2 separate regions of the Homo sapiens genome follow, and region 1 is linked to region 2. Evidence: promoter capture Hi-C in 16 types of primary human blood cells and fetal thymus (Javierre and others, 2016). All regions are on one chromosome and are shown on one strand. The core of a region is centred on a gene start or on the middle of the fragment in contact, and the rest is flanking DNA. Distances in the headings are between cores, read along the strand shown.

Region 1 (5,675 bases), core at 430-2,929, 9.6 Mb before region 2:
TGGCAGAAGGGGGCAAGGCTGCTCCGTTCAACCTCTTCAGTAAGGGCACTAATCCTGTTCATGAGGGCAGAGTCCTTATGACTTACTTCCCAAAAGACCCCATCTCTTAATGCTATCATATTGGATATTAGGTTCCAACATATGAATTTTGGAGGACACCAGTATCCAGACCACAGCAGAAGCCAAAAAATGACAAAACATTCTGGCTATAATATGCTGTGTATAATACATTCCTGAAAATCTTCACATTTTAAGAAAATGGCTCACTTAAAATAAGAGCCTAAGGAAAAAATAAGTCTGGGAAAGCCCTCTCAAACTCTGAACAACTGAGCGGTGGTTCCCAAACTTTGCTACTTACTGATATGATCTTTAAAAACTGATAGCTGGCTCCCACACTCAAGACATTCTGAGTTAAATAGAATGAGGTTCAGCTGGGCCTCAGTATTCTAAAACATCCGTAGTTAACTAATAAACAACAAAGTCTGGCAACCACTGAACTGTAGTATTAACAGACAATAACAACCGAAATGAAAATAGTAGTTCATTTAGAAGGACGTGTAAAACTCCTAACAAATAAAGCAATGTTATATTAACTTAAAGAGTTTTACCTTTTTAAAAAAGTTGAAGGTTGCTTAAAGAATGACAGTTTACAGAAGGGTAGACACTGATGAGTGATGGAAACAAGGGCGGGAGATCATCAGAAGTAGCAGATGGAGAAGCAGTTGCAAACTTTGCAGGAAATGTGGAGTTGCCAGAGATGGATGGCTCTGACTCGTTGTCTGATGTCGCTTTTGCCCAAAGATGTGAGGGAGCTGCAAAATAAGCACTATCAAAATGGAGCATATGGCTGAACCAAGCCCAGGGAAGAATGGGGTCCCACACCGTGAAAGGTCATCATTTGAGTGCTATACTCCCCCAGGCCTGGTTCAATCACAAAACTAAGTGCAATAATTGTACTTCAGCTATTGTGTCTTTGTACTACAAAGCATTAAAGTGCTATGAAAAATTATGTATGAACCAACCCACTTTCCCTATTATTCTAACATTACTCTCCTGTTTAACAATCTCATGTGACCTCATGTGTACTATAAAAAACAGTACTCGGCTGGGTGTAGTGGCTCATGCCTTTAACCCCAGCACTTTGGAAGGCCAAGGCAGGCAGATTACTTGAGCTCAGGAGTTCCAGACCAGCCTGGGCAATGTGGTGAAATCCTGTCACTACAAAAAATTAGCCAGGCGTGATGATGCGCACCTGTAGTCCCAGCTACTCAGGAGGCTGAAGTGGGAGGATTCCTTGAGACCAGGAGGCAAAGATTGCAGTAAGCCAAGATCTTCTCACTGCACTCCAGCCTGGGTGATAGAGCTAGACCCTGTCTCAAAAATAAAAAATAAAAAAGACAATACTGTAACATAACAGACTATGTTAGTATTCCACTGAGAATCTGGAGTTTAAATAATGTCATCCTGCCCCTGTTTTACTTATCTCCTTCTGTGGTTCATACTGTCCTTTAGCACCAAGTAATTCTTTAGGTAGGCAGTTCTTCCACCTCTGACTTTGCCCTAGAAGGGTACTTGAATTCGTATAACTTGGGCAGCTTTATTTAAATAGCACATACAGCATATGACTAATCCAAATGGAGCACCCATACCTGATCATTTTTCAATATCTTTTTTTAAAAAATAAATTACCATGTATGTGTTATCACTATAGTGAACCAGATTAGGGAACTTTATTTTAAGCTGAGTACATTTGCTTTCTTTTTTATTGTTTTGCTTGGCTTTTAAAAATTGTCTTTAGCAGCTTGGATTGCAATACAGGTAAAATTATACTGTCATTTCCATTGAATTTTTTGCATGCCAAAATTGGAAAATAATATTGATATCAGAAATTACTTAGGTCACTAGGATCTTCAGTCTGAATTCATTCCTTAATGTTATAATCCACACAGAAGGAACAGATTGATTTGGACTTGTTGCAGACATTGTATGGCAAGGTAGAGCAATGCTAATTTATTGATTTTTTTTTTTTGGAGAAAAATACTGAGGTTAGGCAATGAGAGATGAATAATGTAAGAAGGTATATAGAAATGTAAATGGAATAGTGAGAGTGAAGTATAAGAATTACATTGACAAAAGCTAAACATAAATAACCTTGAGTGACCAATAGAAAGCAAATGCCTGAAATTACATTAAAACACATGGGGAGCAAATAAGGGTTGAAAATTACTTATTGGGTACAATGCTCACTACTCAGGTGATGGGTGCACTAAAAGCCCAGATTTCATATATGCATGTAAGAAAGCTGCACTTGTACCCCCTAAATATTAAAAAAAAATTTTAAATTAAAAACATATGGGGCAGAAAAAAATCAAGGCTTTCCCTTATTTTTGATAAATTCTCATTATATAAGTTTTGTTTCATTTTTGTAACAAATCAGAATGACTCTCCCACTTCCACCCTTTTTCTTTCAGACTATGGATCACAGATATTTAGAGCTAAAAGGGAACCTAAGAATTTTCAAATTTACATTCTGTGTCATGTGGATTAGGAAACTGAATCCCAAATAAGTTCATTGACTCTTTTAGGGTTACATAGTAGAACCTACAATCAAGGCCTCCTGGATTCTAGTTCAGTGCTTCTTACAATAGTTAATAATAAAAGTAACTGTTCTACTTGAAGGACAAAATTTTGAGTTTATATGTACATATGATCAGCGCATATCCATGGATACGTCATTGCTATTGTATGTAGACTTTTTCGGAAATCAGAAGGAATATGTATACCTTTGAGTCCAAATACTCAAAGGCAGGTTGACATTTTTCAGATGTCACTACCAATGGGAAGAATAGGAAAGGCAACTAAGATATTGTGGAAGGTAGAATAATCTCTCCTACCCCCCCAACCCCCAAAGATGTCCACATCCTAATCCCTGGGAACTGTGATTGTTACTTTACATGTCAAACAGCACTTTTCAAATGTGATTGAAGGTAAGGACCTCGAGATGGTGAGGTTATTCTGGATTACTCAGCTGGCCCCCTCTAATCATGAGTCCTTAAATGCGGAAGAGGGAATCAGAAGAGTGGGTCTGAGAGATGTGACATGAAAAGACTTGTCCTGCTGTTGATGGGCTTTGAAGTTGGAGGAAGAGGGCCATGAGCCAAGAAATGTGGTTATCTTTAGAAGCTGAGAACAGCTCTTAGTTTATAGCCAGCAAGAAAACAGGGACCTTGGTCCTACAACAGCAAGAAACTGAATTCTGCCAAAATCTAAGTGAGCAGGAAATGGATTCTTCCCTACAGCCTCCTTCTGGAGGCATACATTCTACTAACACCTTGATTTAAGTCCAGTCAGACCCATATCAGACTTACAGAACTGTAAGTTAATAAAGTTTTGTTGTTTTAAGCCACTAAGTTTGTGGCGATTTGTTATGGAAGGAATACAAAGTGATACAGATATGCAACCTCTTAATTTATTGTCTTCCTGGATAAAAGTAAAGTGTCTATACTGTACATAGGAGGTTTTGAACATTTTTTATTCATTCTAAGCAACTTAAGTACTATTGCTCATGGCCATCTTTTTCTGTGGCACAAAGTCTTTGTAAATTCTAAACTTCTACCCAGAATTTCCTCTGTGGTGACATTAAGTAAAAGGTGAGTTTCTTCAAAGTATTATTTAATATATTTGTGTGTTTTTCTCATTATACTGTCATTCTTATAAAGTGGATGCTCCACTGTCATGACAAGTAGTGGTACATGTTCAGTCTTTACATAAATCTTAAGTCATCTTCGTCAAGTACCTACTGTGTTCCACACCTCTGTTACTCCAGTGGTTTCTGCTCTTTTTTTCTCTAGGTTTTGTTTCTTGCCCGAACTCATTTTGTTGGTAATTAACAGAGCCAGTCTTTAAACCTAGACAGTCAAGCTCCAATGTGCTGCACTGCCATTGAGATTGTTGCCCAGGAAAAATTCACAGTAGTGTCAAGAAATAACCAACATATATAGACAGAGGATCACTTAAGGTTATTCAGATTTGAGTAGTTGTGACTGTTTCCTCAGATTCCTGGGCCTAACTCTTTACAAAGAGGAAGAGACAGATTCAACACTTTTCTGCCTCTGTGGCATTTTTTCCATTTCTTCAATATTAAGTATCTGTATCATTACTATTTTCTCTAACAGGGGTTGGCAAACTACAAACCTTGGGGAAATCATTCTGTTAGTAAATGTTATTGGCACACAACCACAATCATTAATTTGTATATCATCTATGGCTGCTTTGAGGCTACAACAGCAGAGTTGAGTAATTGCAACAGACGCCCACAAGACCTAAAATATTTATTATCGGGCTCTTTACAGAAAGTTTGCAGACCGCTGTTTTCTAATGTCAACAAATGAGATTTCCAGAGCTTTTATATTACCAATTCATCATTCTGACCGGCCTCATGTATTCTCATAATGCCCATTTTTGACTAGCTTTGAGATATGATTCTTCCATTTTTCTGAACTTGACCTCTTGCACTGAGAATAAACAGACATAACAAAACCTCAGAGGACTTCAGAGAAAGTCTGTATTGTTTCCTCCCTACCTACCCTACTACCTATTGTTTTTAGAATTTCTGTCAAGAATATGCAGGAAAAGAAATGAAAAATAACAACAAAAAGAATATGCAGGAACTTTTCCAAGTCTTTACCCCATGTGATAATTACTCACATAATGGAATTTTTCATGCATGTGGCATGATCAAAAATAATGATCTGCATTTTAACATATGCACCAGAAACTAAATTGAAAATCACCAACTTGTCAAAATAATGCAGTGAATTGAAACAAAATCTCAGCAGAGAGATTTTTTGAAAACAAAAAGATAATTCTTATTAAAGACAGCTGTTTGTTGGGGACATTAGTCATTGCTTTTTGGCTGCTTAACCTCCGTACTGTCTTTTTATTTCTTGAGAGTTCCCTATTTTACAAGTTTTGGTGATGGAGCTCAATATATCAGCCACTTTTTTCTGATGTTTCTTGCAGTGAAAGAGGCCTAGGCTCTGCTTATGACTACCACAGATATTGAATTGAGGGCGGGTGCTGCAAAGCAGCAAATCCTGTAGAGAAACGACTCTGATGGTCATACCAGTTGTAGCAAGAGCAAATTCATAAAGGAGCATGACATTGATGCCTGTGGTGACATCCAGGGCACAGTGAGCAGTGCCACTGTGTATTGGGTCAGAAGCTTCAGTTTGATTGTTTGACAGTGGTGTTCAAAGGGTCCTGGCTGACCCAGCTTTGCTGTGCATTTGGGACCTGCCACCCAGCTACCTAACCTCTGCATATTATTCTGCTTTTTAAAAGGATATTGAGTAGCTCACATAATTGTAAGACAATTATGAGCTATTTTTGCTCATATGGCTTCTAAATTTTAACTAAAAAAAATTAAACCAAGACCCTTTTATGCATGTTTACTTTAAAATGCTAAATTTTTATATACTAAATTTATTAATTGCAAAGAATGGAACTTCTAGCACATAGTGTTTTGTTTATGTGCTTTAAATATATTTTCATTAAAATTGTAGCTGCAAATTTAAGTCATATTTATGGTAGAGCCCATATCCTTATCAAACCCATTAGCTGACTTTATTTTTCTATTTAAATAAATATGTTACCCTGCATCCTGTGAGTGCTGT
Region 2 (6,055 bases), core at 3,195-5,694:
AGAGAGAGGATAAACTACACACACACAAACACATAAATCCATACTAAGACCTAAGAGTGCCAACAACTAAGAAAGAAATATGAAAAAGCTATGTAAGTAGCTATGATTTCAACACTACAAAATCATTTTTAGGCTGGAACCAAACACATAACAATCTCTTGGCAATATTTCGTTAAGTTTTCAACTTTTTTCCAGCCTAAATGACTATGGGCAATAAAACCATTTCCTTTACCCCAGTTCTACTGTAGAAAGGCACAGCGCTGTGGTAAATATCAAACCATTCCTTTCTCAACCTTTCAGTAGCAATTAACCAAGATACTGTTCTCCTTTACTGAATGACTCAATTATACAGTTTCATGTACACTCTGCAACGCAAGTCACAGATGTCATAGAACATGCAACTTTGAATTAGTAAAGGTTTCACTGCAAAAATCATTAGGTTCACACAATTTAAATCTACAATTAACTTTTAAAGTTTAATCAGGTAAACTCAATATTTTCTTGGTAATAATACTGGTGATATTAGTGAGCCCAAGGGCAGGTAGAGAAAAAGCACTAGGCAAAATTACGTGTTTTTTAAAGAAACTTTCCTAATCAGGGAAATAATTAGCATTTTGTCTACTCGTTGAATGTTGAATTTGTCAAAAAAAAAAAACCCTTAAATATATTTAATAGCTATATCAAATTGTTTAAAGTGAAATCATGCACTTGTCAAAATAGTTCACAGAAAATTGTTTAGCATCAAAGATAATGAGGAAGAGTCAACCAGTTGGATTTAGTGAGAATAGAATAAGAACTACTGTCCTGAACAGTCAGTGTATGTAGTAACCATATTTCCTCTTCGTTGAGTGACAGTCCTGCAGTGCTTGCTAGATCCATGAAATCTATTTTCAGTCTGTACTGTATGCTGATTGGTAGAGTCAAAACCACTAAAAGAAAACATTTTCTCCATATCTTCAAACATGTCATCAAATAATCCACCTCCAAAAGAAAATTCTTGGAAATGATGCCTTTGTCTACTGGAACCACCATCCTGGCGTGTCTGGAAATGATTTTCAAAACGCTTCTTGGATCCAGTGTTTTGGTTTTGACCAAAAAAGCCAAAGTCTTTAAATAAGTCATCAAAATTGAAGTTAAATGACTGCTCAAAAGAACTTCCACTACCTCTTTGTCCTTTACCACTAGTAAAAGCACTGTGTCCAAGTGTATCATACTCTTTTCGTCTATTAGCATCTGAGAGTGTTTCATATGCTGAAAGTGACAAAAATATTTTTAGTAACTGAAGGTAAAATATTCAAAATTACATATATTCAAATCTCTTCAAGCAAGTGAACTGAATACTATTATTTTAGGGAAGAATTTCGCATCAGAAATAAAAGCAAAACACTACAAATATAAGCATCAAGTTAATCAAAATTATAAAATAAAGCAGAAACTGTCTTATTAACTGCTGAGTTATCAGCAGTTGGCACAATGCCATCTGCAATACTCAATAAAGTTATTAAATGTTACCATTACTACAAATAAACATGTGGGCAACAATCAGAGTTCTTTAATCTTCATATTATTCGTGTGAAATCATTAATTGTATTAAAAAATTAAACCATCAACTATAACCAATTAATAGGAATTAAGATTTTGCACCTCCTTACTAAAGTAAACTGTTTAATTCTAACTCCCTACTCAGTTACCTCCATCCAACAATAATTACTGAATGCTCAGCAGGTGCAATTTGTTTTAGAGCTAGTCTGAAGTCAAAATTTGTTCCAATTTTTTCTTTGAAGACAAATATGGCTTTGAAAAGCAGATCAAGTGAATAAAGCACTTTAGAGTCTAGTTTAATTTTTAAGTCTTTAATGTTTAAAATGTAAAATATTCTGTTTCATAAGTTAGTTGATAAGAATTTTGGGTACCTAAAATTCTTTTTTGTCATAGAAGCAACAGTGATCTTATAAATAATATAGAATAGATTTTCAATATTTTTAGATACGTATACCAATAAAATTATCTATTATTCTTTCATATATTTATTCAGGAATCAAAGCATCTGTGATAAGAAAATAATCTCAGAGAATCACCCAATATTTATACATAAATCCCACTCCACCTCCCATCTCCACAAAACCTTCAAATACAAACACTTCTTAGCTATCATTCTCCTTACTAGTTAATACCCATGACACTTCAGAGATTGTCATTTATTTACCTTCTGCAATCTCTCTGAATTTTGCTTCAGCATCCGGGCTCTTATTTTTGTCAGGGTGGTACTTCATGGCCAACTTGTGAAAGGCCTTCTTGATTTGGCGCTCTGATGCCGATTTTGGCACACCTAAGATATCATAGTAGCTTTTTGAGGCCAGAATTAATTCTGTTATCATTAAAATGCAGATTGCAAAGATGAAAATTGACTGGGGAGTAGCCATTTCTAATATCCTAAAACAGAAAAGAAAAAAAAATGTTATGGATGGAGCTAATCTTAAAACGTTTTTCTTTTAAAAGAAATCCAACACAAGGTAAACCTAATGCAGTATCAAAATAGTAAGCATACAGTATCTATTACCTGTCCACATGTAATTTCACTTTTAGTTTTATAACTCTCAAACTGGCTTAACCTTATTGAGAACAAAAATAATTCTTGGCTTTGTCTGTCTACTAATACTCTGGCCATACACAGAGGAGATAGAAAATTATCAATAACTGACTTTTAACCAGTTTATATTGAAGATTCATCATATGCAAGCATTGTAAGAAAAAAAAAGAAAACCAAATAATATAAGATCCCAACTTTCCTTTCAAGACTTCATATCCTGAAAGTAATAATGTATTTAACTTCACAGAAAAAAAAAACATTAAAAAAAAAAGGTGGCGCACCAAGGTAAATAGCCCAGTATATCTAAATTAGTATTATTAATCTCGCTCCAAAAATTCAGCTTTCATTTCAGCAGGTGAGCCAAGGACTGCAAATAGAGAATCTTAATATCACAATACTAATACTGACAATACAATAGAATGTTGTCTTTTTCCCAAATGTAAGATCCCAAATGTTTAACCAGGAAGCATGGCTAAATATTGTTTAAAACTCATGATGAACAGAATTTAAGATTTCTGCTAAAGCTGCCAGAAAAATGAACTTTGATAGTTTGTACTGTGGTTAAGGCAGATTCTTACTTTCACAAACTCAGTAGTTAAAATATTTCTTTTACCTTTAAACCATTAAAGAAATGTTAACTTAGAATTCTTGACAATATGTATTCAATGACTTGAGATTCAAAACGAAGGGATGGATCCTGTTTTTTGAATACGGGACCACCAGAGTCCTTAGTAACCTATAATGCCATAATAAGGCTGACGAAAAACACTACGGTTTGTGGAAATTGCCTGGCTTCCTCTCCAGCGGCCTTTCCTGAGAGTAATTAGCAGGCAGGTAGATTACTTATTTCCAGAGAGTTACTCGTAGTCACGGGTACCAAGAATCAAGAACCACTTCTCGGTTTAAGGAACACAACAGTGTGTCCCATGGACGCTGCGTCAACTGCAGGTTGCTCCCTAGTCAAAGGGCGGATCTAAAACTGACAGGGAGGCGCCTCACTGGTTCAGCAGACGTTATTCCACGGTCTCAAGGTGGACATCTAATGATTTTTTTTTAGCAGACTAGTTTTGTATTGTACAGACTTCTCATCCCCAAGACGGCCCCGCCAGCCAGCAGCCCGTGCCTTATTCCCCAGCCTCGGTGGGCGGCTGGGCTAGACCCTCCAACCTTCACCTAAAGGCGACTGGCACTTTCCCTGCCCGCCCAGGCCCCGCCGCAGAAGCTGCCCGAGACCCGGGCTCTAATCCGGCGCCCGTGAAAGCCGGCGCCACAACCCAAAACACGATTCTGTGATGCGGCTGTCTCCGTTCTTCCATTCTCTCGGCCAAAAACATGCAGCCCATTGTCCCTGCGGCGACCGTGGCGGACACCGAGGCCAAGTCAGCTCACAAAGACAGGCCTGGGCTACGGGGACCCTCCGAACTCCCCTCCCCACGACCCCGGCCTCGTCCCTCACCTGCACCCTCCGACTACTGCTGCTCCTCCACAGAGCTGAGGCGCTGGCGACCCTGACGATCGGCTCGGGTCGGCAGCTTGGGCCCGGCCCCTCACCGCGGCCTCCCGGAGCTGGCACGCACCCTAATCTCGGTCGTACACCGACCTAGCGCTCCTCCTTCCCCGCCGGCGCCCAGTCCCCTCTCAGCCAGCTCCTCACAGGCAGGAGGTAGCCGCTGGCGCCACCACCTCAGAAGACCTACACGAAACGCTTCCCCATTGGCTTCTGCCTCCCCACGTGATCCCGGCGCCCTACGCGCACGTGGAAAACTGTTGTTGCTGCTAGGGCTGTGCGCCACTTCCGGCTTCAACCCCCGAAAAGGCGGTGCTTAAACCGGAGGAGGCGGAAGTGAGTCGACAGACGAGGCGGCTTTCCCGGCAGAATGCTAGCGCAGGCGCAGGGGCTCGAGAGGCCTGGACCTGTGGCGCATCCTCAGTGAGGAGGGCCGCCCTGCATCCGTCGCCGGCCCCGGTCTCCAGGGGCCTCACCCGAGTCATGCCCCGCTATTGCGCAGCGATTTGTTGTAAGAACCGCCGGGGACGAAACAATAAAGACCGGAAGCTGAGTTTTTATCCGTAAGTTGTTTCTGGAGCAGAAGCGTCAGCCTCGCCGTGAGGCCTTGGACCTGTGGCCTTTGGGCTTGGGTGTCTCCTGTCCGCTCTGCCAGTGAGTCCTCAGCTCTCCGTACGTGGCCCGTCGCCCGCGGCAAGACGGAGGGAAGGCGCTAGTTCAGTTTAGCTAGCAATGCCCTTCTTGCGCGAGGACTGCTGGCTGGTGGCGAGGCCCAGGAGCCTGTTTGGGTGTTAACAGTTAAAACAGTAAAGTTTGCGCGGGCTTCTGTGGTTTTCAGTCTTTTCCCCACTTCACGTGATCTCATTTCATTGAACAACATTAACCACCATTTAAGATACGTGAAACCTGCGAAGTGGAAAGGTGCACGCAAAGTTAATTTACACCCCCCGCGAGGTAGGTCGCATAGGTATAATTTCATCCCACTTTTCTCCTGAGGAAACTGAGGCCCGGAATGATTAGGTAACCGACCTTGAAAGTTTAGTGTCAGAGCCAGAATTATAAACTAGTCTTCTGCTTAGGGCTGTAGATACTCTGCGGAGAACAAGGTTTTATTCTGTTACTCTGAATTACTAGAGCCACGATATATTTCCATCAAACTACTGAAGCACTGATTTTTATTCAGAAGTACAGACAAGCAGTGTCGTATAATAATTAGGGGTCCAGGCTTCAATGCTAGATCCTGGTTCCACTATTCTGTAGCTTAATGACCTCTTGGAAAGTATTTAAGCTTTGGTGTCTCACATATCTCATCTGTAACATGGAGATGTTAATAGTACTCACATGATTAATAACACATGAAAAGCAACATATTTAAAATACTGCATTTCCATTTTTTCTTGTATTTAAAAACAATTCATTTAGATCTAACCTGGTTCAGATTTTCAGCAGTTGTTTTGTGCTCATTTTACTTTAGACCTGAAGGACTTATTCATTAATGATTCGGCTGCTTTCCAGTATTTTAATTAATGGAAAAAAAATTGATAACCCCACCAGGCGCGGTGGCTCACGCCTGTAATCCCAGCACTTTGGGAGGCTGAGGCGGGCAGATCACCTGAGGTCGGCAGTCTGAGACCAGCCTGACCAACATGGAGAAACCCCGTCTGTACTAAAAATACAAAATTAGCTGCGCGTGGCGGCGCATGCCTGTGATCTCAGCTGCTCGGGAGGCTGAGGCAGGTGAATCGCTTGAACCTGGGAGGTGGAGGTTGAGGTGAGCCGAGATCACACCATTGCACCACAGCCTGAGCAACAAGAGCGAAACTCCGTCTCAAAAGAAAAAAAAACTGATAACCCCAAGTAATTCACAATCCATGGCAATATTTCCAGGATTGTCTCCCTTGAAGCCCAGCCTCAAGATGCAAAGAGATGTTTGGGGGAGGAAAACAATCTAATCCACT

What was found. Contacts are between HindIII fragments. The CHiCAGO score rates a contact against its expected background, and 5 or more counts as called.
Region 1: a contact is called between a fragment that was not itself captured here and the fragment with the promoter of THAP5 in region 2, in 1 of 17 cell types (total CD4 T cells). The highest score is 8.7, in total CD4 T cells.

What each region holds. Positions count from the first base shown.
Region 1 is chr7:118,173,392-118,179,066 of GRCh38, reverse strand. All of the region lies in intron 1 of LOC105375470 (a long non-coding RNA gene), which reads left to right. Among named protein-coding and RNA genes, the nearest start is that of LSM8, 7.9 kb to the left of the region's middle. The HindIII fragment of the contact is 7,095 bases long and covers 1-5,226 here.
Region 2 is chr7:108,568,095-108,574,149 of GRCh38, reverse strand. THAP5 (THAP domain containing 5) reads left to right here and starts at 4,444. Exons shown (of 3, transcript NM_001130475.3): 1 at 4,444-4,660. The coding sequence starts at 4,581. DNAJB9 (DnaJ heat shock protein family (Hsp40) member B9) reads right to left here and starts at 4,276. Exons shown (of 3, transcript NM_012328.3): 1 at 4,047-4,276; 2 at 2,207-2,433; 3 at 1-1,251. The coding sequence starts at 2,423. The coding sequence ends at 797. RefSeq lists enhancers at 4,121-4,848, 4,382-4,861. The HindIII fragment of the contact is 6,219 bases long and covers 1-5,387 here.